2 separate regions of the Homo sapiens genome follow, and region 2 is linked to region 1. The links are contacts of gene promoters, found by promoter capture Hi-C in blood cells and fetal thymus (Javierre and others, 2016). All regions are on one chromosome and are shown on one strand. The core of a region is centred on a gene start or on the middle of the fragment in contact, and the rest is flanking DNA. Distances in the headings are between cores, read along the strand shown.

Region 1 (2,766 bases), core at 249-2,748:
ACACAGACACATAAAATGGAATACTATTCTCTTTTAAATTTTGTATGCCTAATAATTCATGGTTAAAGGACAAGATAATAACTATTTTTGAGTATCCCGCTGTGGAGACACGATCTCCTTTGATCCTTGCAGCAATGTGTAAGGTAAGTGGCATCATCTTCCTTCTATTAATGGTAGAACTGAAGATCAAAGAGAGTGTCTAACTTGCTTAGGGCTACATAGCCAAGTGGTGAAGCTAAACTCAGTCTAGGCTTACTTGATAGTACACTAACATTAAATGTCTAGGAGTAAATATCTAAAACAAACTGTAAGTCTTCTCTATTTACCATACAAATTATTCAAGTGAACTGCCATTTTTGCCTGGCTTGAAAGATACTTTTCAGAAGAATGGGCTCATATACACATGCACGCGCGCACACACACACACACAATGGAATACTATTTAGCCTTAAAAACGCATATATATCTAAAATATATGTGTGTACATATTTTATATATATATGTGTTTATATATATAATATATATTATATTTGTATACACACACACATATATGCCACATTTTCTTTATCCATTTATCCCTTGATGGACACTTAGGTTGATTCCATATCTTGGCAATTGTGAATAGTGCTGCAATAAACATGAAAGTACAGACGTCTCTTCAACACACTGATTTCAAATCTTCCCAGTAAATACCCAGAAATGAGATTGCTGGATCATATGATAATTCTACTTTCAGTTTTTTGAGAAACCTCCATACAATTTTCCATCATGTTTGTACTAATTTACATTCCACCAACAGCATACAAGCATTCCCTTTTCTCCATTCTTGCCAACACTTGTTATCATAAAGGGAGGTTTGAGAGACCATAAAACAAACCCCACCTCACAATTTTGTTAGTGCAAGTTCTATTTGGCCTATTCCCAACACTAAGCACACAGTAGGTGGCAAATATTTGTTGAATGGATGAATTCTCATTTTTCTCCATTTGTGGAAGCAGACACCTCCTCAAAAAAAAAAAAAAATCCGAAAGAAAAGGTAAAGGAAACAGTTCTATGAATGGGGGTTAATTTACTCTCCTAGCATTCACTTATTGGGAAAAAAAGTAACAGCAGTTTCTAGAACCCTCTGGTCTCTGAGGGAGATGCTGTGTTCCCCTCCTCAGAGAAGAAGAAAACGCACTAGAGAGTGGGAGCATCCCCAAGGCTGAAGCGCATCCAGGACATCACATGTCAACGTGTCCTCTCTGGCGTGGGGTCCCCGCGAGTCTGGGAAACGAGGAGCTGGCAAGGGAGGGCAAGCGGGGGCGGCAAAGAGGGCCCCTGGAGCAGGGGGCGCGGACCTCGCTGCGCTGCGCGCTCTACCGCCGGGCTCGCAACGCTGGGCTCAGCGCTCGCGCCTCCCTCAGCTCTCTCCTCCGCCCCCCTTCGCCCTCCCCCTTTCCCTCCCTTTCTCCTCCTCCTCCTGCCGCCGCGGCCGCTGCCGGACTTCGCCAGATCAGACCCACGGGGCTGCCCTCCCCTGCGCACTCCCCTCGCTGCCCGGGCCCGGAGCGCAGCGCGGCCGCACAGGTAGGAGCCCCCAACGGGGGGTCGCCCCGAGCGAGCCCAGTACTCACTGGGCCGCGCGCGGGAGAGTGAGGTGGGGTGAGCTGAGGGGTGTTGAGTACCCGAGAACTGCCCTGGACTGTGCAGGGTGTCTCGGGCAGAGAGGGAGGTGGAGGTGTGCAGCCTCGGAATGCGATCTGTCAGCAAGTGCGAGTACTCGGGTGACATCTGTTGGGATGGGCATGTGTGTGCGCGCCGACAACCAGCCGGCAGGGCTTTGCCCATAAACGTGGTTTTGAAAGTTTAGGGGACCAGTGTGCGAGATTTAAGCCGCACCTGGATTCCATAGGAGCTGGTTAGAAGCTGGGACGCTGAGCAGCTCCAGGGGACCGCCGCGTTAGCTTGCTGTTAAGAAAGGGGACCTCATCTCCCTGCCGGGCCAGGCCGCCCGCCCGAAACTGGTACCTTGGGCTGCGGTGCGATCCCTGGTTCCGGTCCTAGGCAGCCTGAAACCGAAGGTAGCGTGTCGGGGACCCAGACTGATAAGACAAAAGAGAATCAGTCGCTTTGGGCTGCCCCTCCACACAACCTGGGACTTTTAAACAAAGCTGTGCGCAGAGAAAGGCGTGGAAATGCCACTTTGAGAGTTTGTGCTGGGGGATGTGAGAAGCTCTGAGACATGTGAGAAGGTCTAGTATTCTACTAGAACTGGAAGATTGCTCTCCGAGTTTTGTTTTGTTATTTTGTTTAAAAAATAAAAAGCTTGAGGCCAAGGCAATTCATATTGGCTCACAGGTATTTTTGCTGTGCTGTGCAAGGAACTCTGCTAGCTCAAGGTGAGTATACTGGGAAAGCCTTAACGTTCTAGAGAACAGAGTTTTGCAGCCCCACCTCCATCCCCCGGGGTGTGGGACTGGGGGGCAGGAAATGCACCGTCCCCTTTGAAATGGATTACTGTTTTTTCCTTTCGACCCCCTCTTTCTGCAGCCTGCTTTGTAGGTGCAGTATAAAATGCACGCTGAATGTCTTTTGTATGTAAACAGCGTAGCAGGATGGAGTAACGTGAAATGCAATTCTACAGCAGTTTTTACGTCTTTGCTGCCTCGTTCGTTGGCTACCGAGAAGGTTCAGGAGGGGGAGGGGAGATGAGAAAGCAGATTGGAAGTTGAGTATGGTGGAGCCTCAGCCTCTCCCACCCTCCTTTCCTCGCTTGTGCTCACT
Region 2 (2,942 bases), core at 188-2,687, 120 kb after region 1:
AAGTAGATAAAAACTGCCTTTTATCAAACATCTGGCCCACATTACATCTCTAGAGTCCCTTTTCAATCAGCCACAGTGTTTTTTACAATTTTGTGATTTCATCAAATTGGCTGAGTCTCATGTGCTGCCTGCTACTACATTCTGAAGTGCCAGGCTGGTACCTAAGAGGAAAAATAACATTTTTCTTCACTCTTAACCCACATTCTGACTTCTCATGCTGAATTCAATCTTCAGCTAATTAGTTCAAGAGCAAGCAACTTTAACCGAGATTCGGTATTACTTTCCTGTTTCTGAGAGCTGGGCTTTCCCCAAATGTTGCTCTCTTGTTACCCTTTGCATTTTAAATGAAGCCATTTTGGAGCATAGCTCTTGTTTTTCCTTTAATATATGCACCCCTTGGGGCTGCGCTGAAGCTTTTGATGGCTCTCTGCCGGCAGTCAGGGCAACAGGACGTCTGCAAGACCCAGCTTTGTCCTGCAGTTGGCATTCATTGCACAGCCCAAGCTGAACAGGGACATTGCAAGTCAATTTTCTCAGAAATGCAGGGTCCCTAGTACTCTAACATAGAGTCTCGAATCTCACTTAGTTTCCACCATTTCATTTTGTTTTAAACATGTAGTATTTCCTTTATTGATAGTTTATGGAATAAAGTTATTCCACAGAAGTCAATTTTCAGATTAACTGAAAACTCAATGTAAGAGTTTGTTGGAAATTCTTTCTAAAATGTTAAATACTTTCCTTGGTCTCAAACAAGGTACACTAAATGTATCTAACTTTTTCTTGATGATTTAGGGTCATCTTTAAACTATCTCATTACATAGGGGTATAAAACAATAACAAATGCATAGAATGAGTTGCCCCTACATTAAATTGCCCCAGGCCACTATGCTTCCTTTGTTACTTTGGCAAATTTTTGTGTTTTATTTTTCTCTCCTTCTGTACTATCAAAGTATCCATAGTCATTCTGCACTGATGTTCTTGTATCAGTCTAGAAACAAACTTTGGGTTTATTGCCTCCAGTTTGCAGATGGCTAGAAACCTAAATAAACAAATCTGTTGCAACAACATCTCCATTAAAAATAAATCCGTTCTAGAGTTATAGGAGGTTCTATCTTCTCATGTAAATGCACGACATCTATTCTGGTTGTATAAAGGTCTTGAGGACTTAATTCCAGCTCATTATTCATATTCCACAGAAGAGAGGTTACCAAACACTTGTCTCTGGATATTTCACAGTTAAGTTCAGTGGTCAGCAATCAATTTGTTCACCATCAAAGTTCTCCTCTTTCCTGATTGTTCTTATCTTCTCTTTGTCTGATTCCTGCTTTGAGTCATTTTCAGTAAGCTTTACATTATCCACCAACAGGAAAGAAAGCATGAAGGAAAGAGCAAAACATTTTAATCTATGCAAATTGAACTTCAATTTTTTTTTTGGTGGGGGAAGCATGAAAGTACATTGAAATTTGAGATTATTTGAACATTTTATTTTTTTAATTTGCTTCTCACCAAAATGGAAGCCTGAAGCTTGGCTGTGACACAGGCACCTACCACTTTCTTTTTTTTTTTTTTTTTTTTTTTTTCTTTTTTTGAGACAGAGTCTCCCTCTGTCACCCAGGCTGGAATCCAATGGTGCAATCTCACCTCATTGCAACCTCTGCCTCCCGGGTTCTAAGCGATTCTCCTGCCTCAGCCTCCTGAGTAGCTGGGATTACAGCCATCTGCCACCATGTCTGGCTATTTTTTGTATTTTTAGTAGAGACAGGGTTTCGCCATGTTGGCCAGGCTAGTCTCGAACTCCTGACCTCAGGTGATCCACCTGCCTCGGCCTCCCAAAGTGCTGTGATTACAGGCGTGAGCCACCGCGCCCGGCCAACCACTCTTATATGTAGCATTCTGCCCTACTTATAAAAGTCTCAACCCCTTTGACTAAAATCCCAACAGCTTTTTGAAATGCCTGTTCAAGATGATCCAGGCCAAGTTGACTTGGAGTGTCAAAAGAGCCCCATAGAAATATAAAAGCTTTTATTCAACACCACACTGAATGATACTGGCACTGGTCAGGAATAGGATGACCAACTCAATCTGGTGTGCCAAGGACCATCCTAATTTGAAGTTGAAAGTCCCATGTCTTGGGAACTTTCTCAGTCCTAGGCAAATTGAGACAATTGGTCACCCTACTGGAAGGTGAACCCTCAAAGGTCTCTCGTGTTTTCCCCCAGGTGGAGCTTTTATCTTCAAAGCATTTCTAAGAATTCAAAGACATCCATCTTCTTCTTTTCTCTTTCTGCCAAGTCAGTCTGGCTAATTCTTTCTTAGAAACATGTCTAACATCAATCCCGTCTTTTCCTATTGCCACCAGTTTGGGCCTTTATCCTCTGGTCCTGGGTTACTTCCATGAAGTCTTCCTGTCTTCTCTCCAGTAAACATGCTACTCTCAGATTAATCTTTTTAAAACCCTGTTTTGCACAAGTTCCAGTTAAAGTCCCAGCTCTTCCATAAAGTCTGGCATCTTCCTGGGCAGGAGGGAACGAGTGAGCAGGGCAGAAGAAAGGCGTGGCAAGAGGTATCAGCTGCTCAGTGCTGGTAAGAGTGCTGCAGGGCCAGTGGAGGGATTATTACCTCCCAGAAGCTGCTAAGGAGCAAAATCAAGACAGGCTGCAGAGCAGAGACAGGCAGGGAACTAAGGTCAGTAATATAGAAAAGAGGTCTGAGTCAATCACCAAGCTAAGGAAGCCTAGCCACAGATATAAAACCCCATTATCAAGGTGAATACCCAAGAGCTTGGGTGCGCTGAGCCCAGCACAGGAGAAATAAGAGGGGCCATACCAAGCAAATCTGTAAGAGAGCACACTTTGCCCTACAGCTAGTTCAAGGCGAGGCTGACTCCAGGAGAAGGGAAAGCAAACTGCAGTAGCAGGAACTGCCTGTGTTATCCTTTCTGC

Evidence for each region. Contacts are between HindIII fragments. The CHiCAGO score rates a contact against its expected background, and 5 or more counts as called.
Region 2: a contact is called between a fragment that was not itself captured here and the fragment with the promoter of EFEMP1 in region 1, in 1 of 17 cell types (M1 macrophages). The highest score is 5.4, in M1 macrophages.

Annotation. Positions count from the first base shown.
Region 1 is chr2:55,922,514-55,925,279 of GRCh38, reverse strand. It overlaps EFEMP1 (EGF containing fibulin extracellular matrix protein 1), which reads left to right and starts at 1,498. Exons shown (of 12, transcript NM_001039348.3): 1 at 1,498-1,569; 2 at 2,341-2,381. RefSeq lists an enhancer at 1,439-1,938. The HindIII fragment of the contact is 8,249 bases long and covers 1-2,309 here.
Region 2 is chr2:55,802,178-55,805,119 of GRCh38, reverse strand. No RefSeq gene overlaps it. Among named protein-coding and RNA genes, the nearest start is that of PNPT1, 110 kb to the right of the region's middle. The HindIII fragment of the contact is 179 bases long and covers 1,348-1,526 here.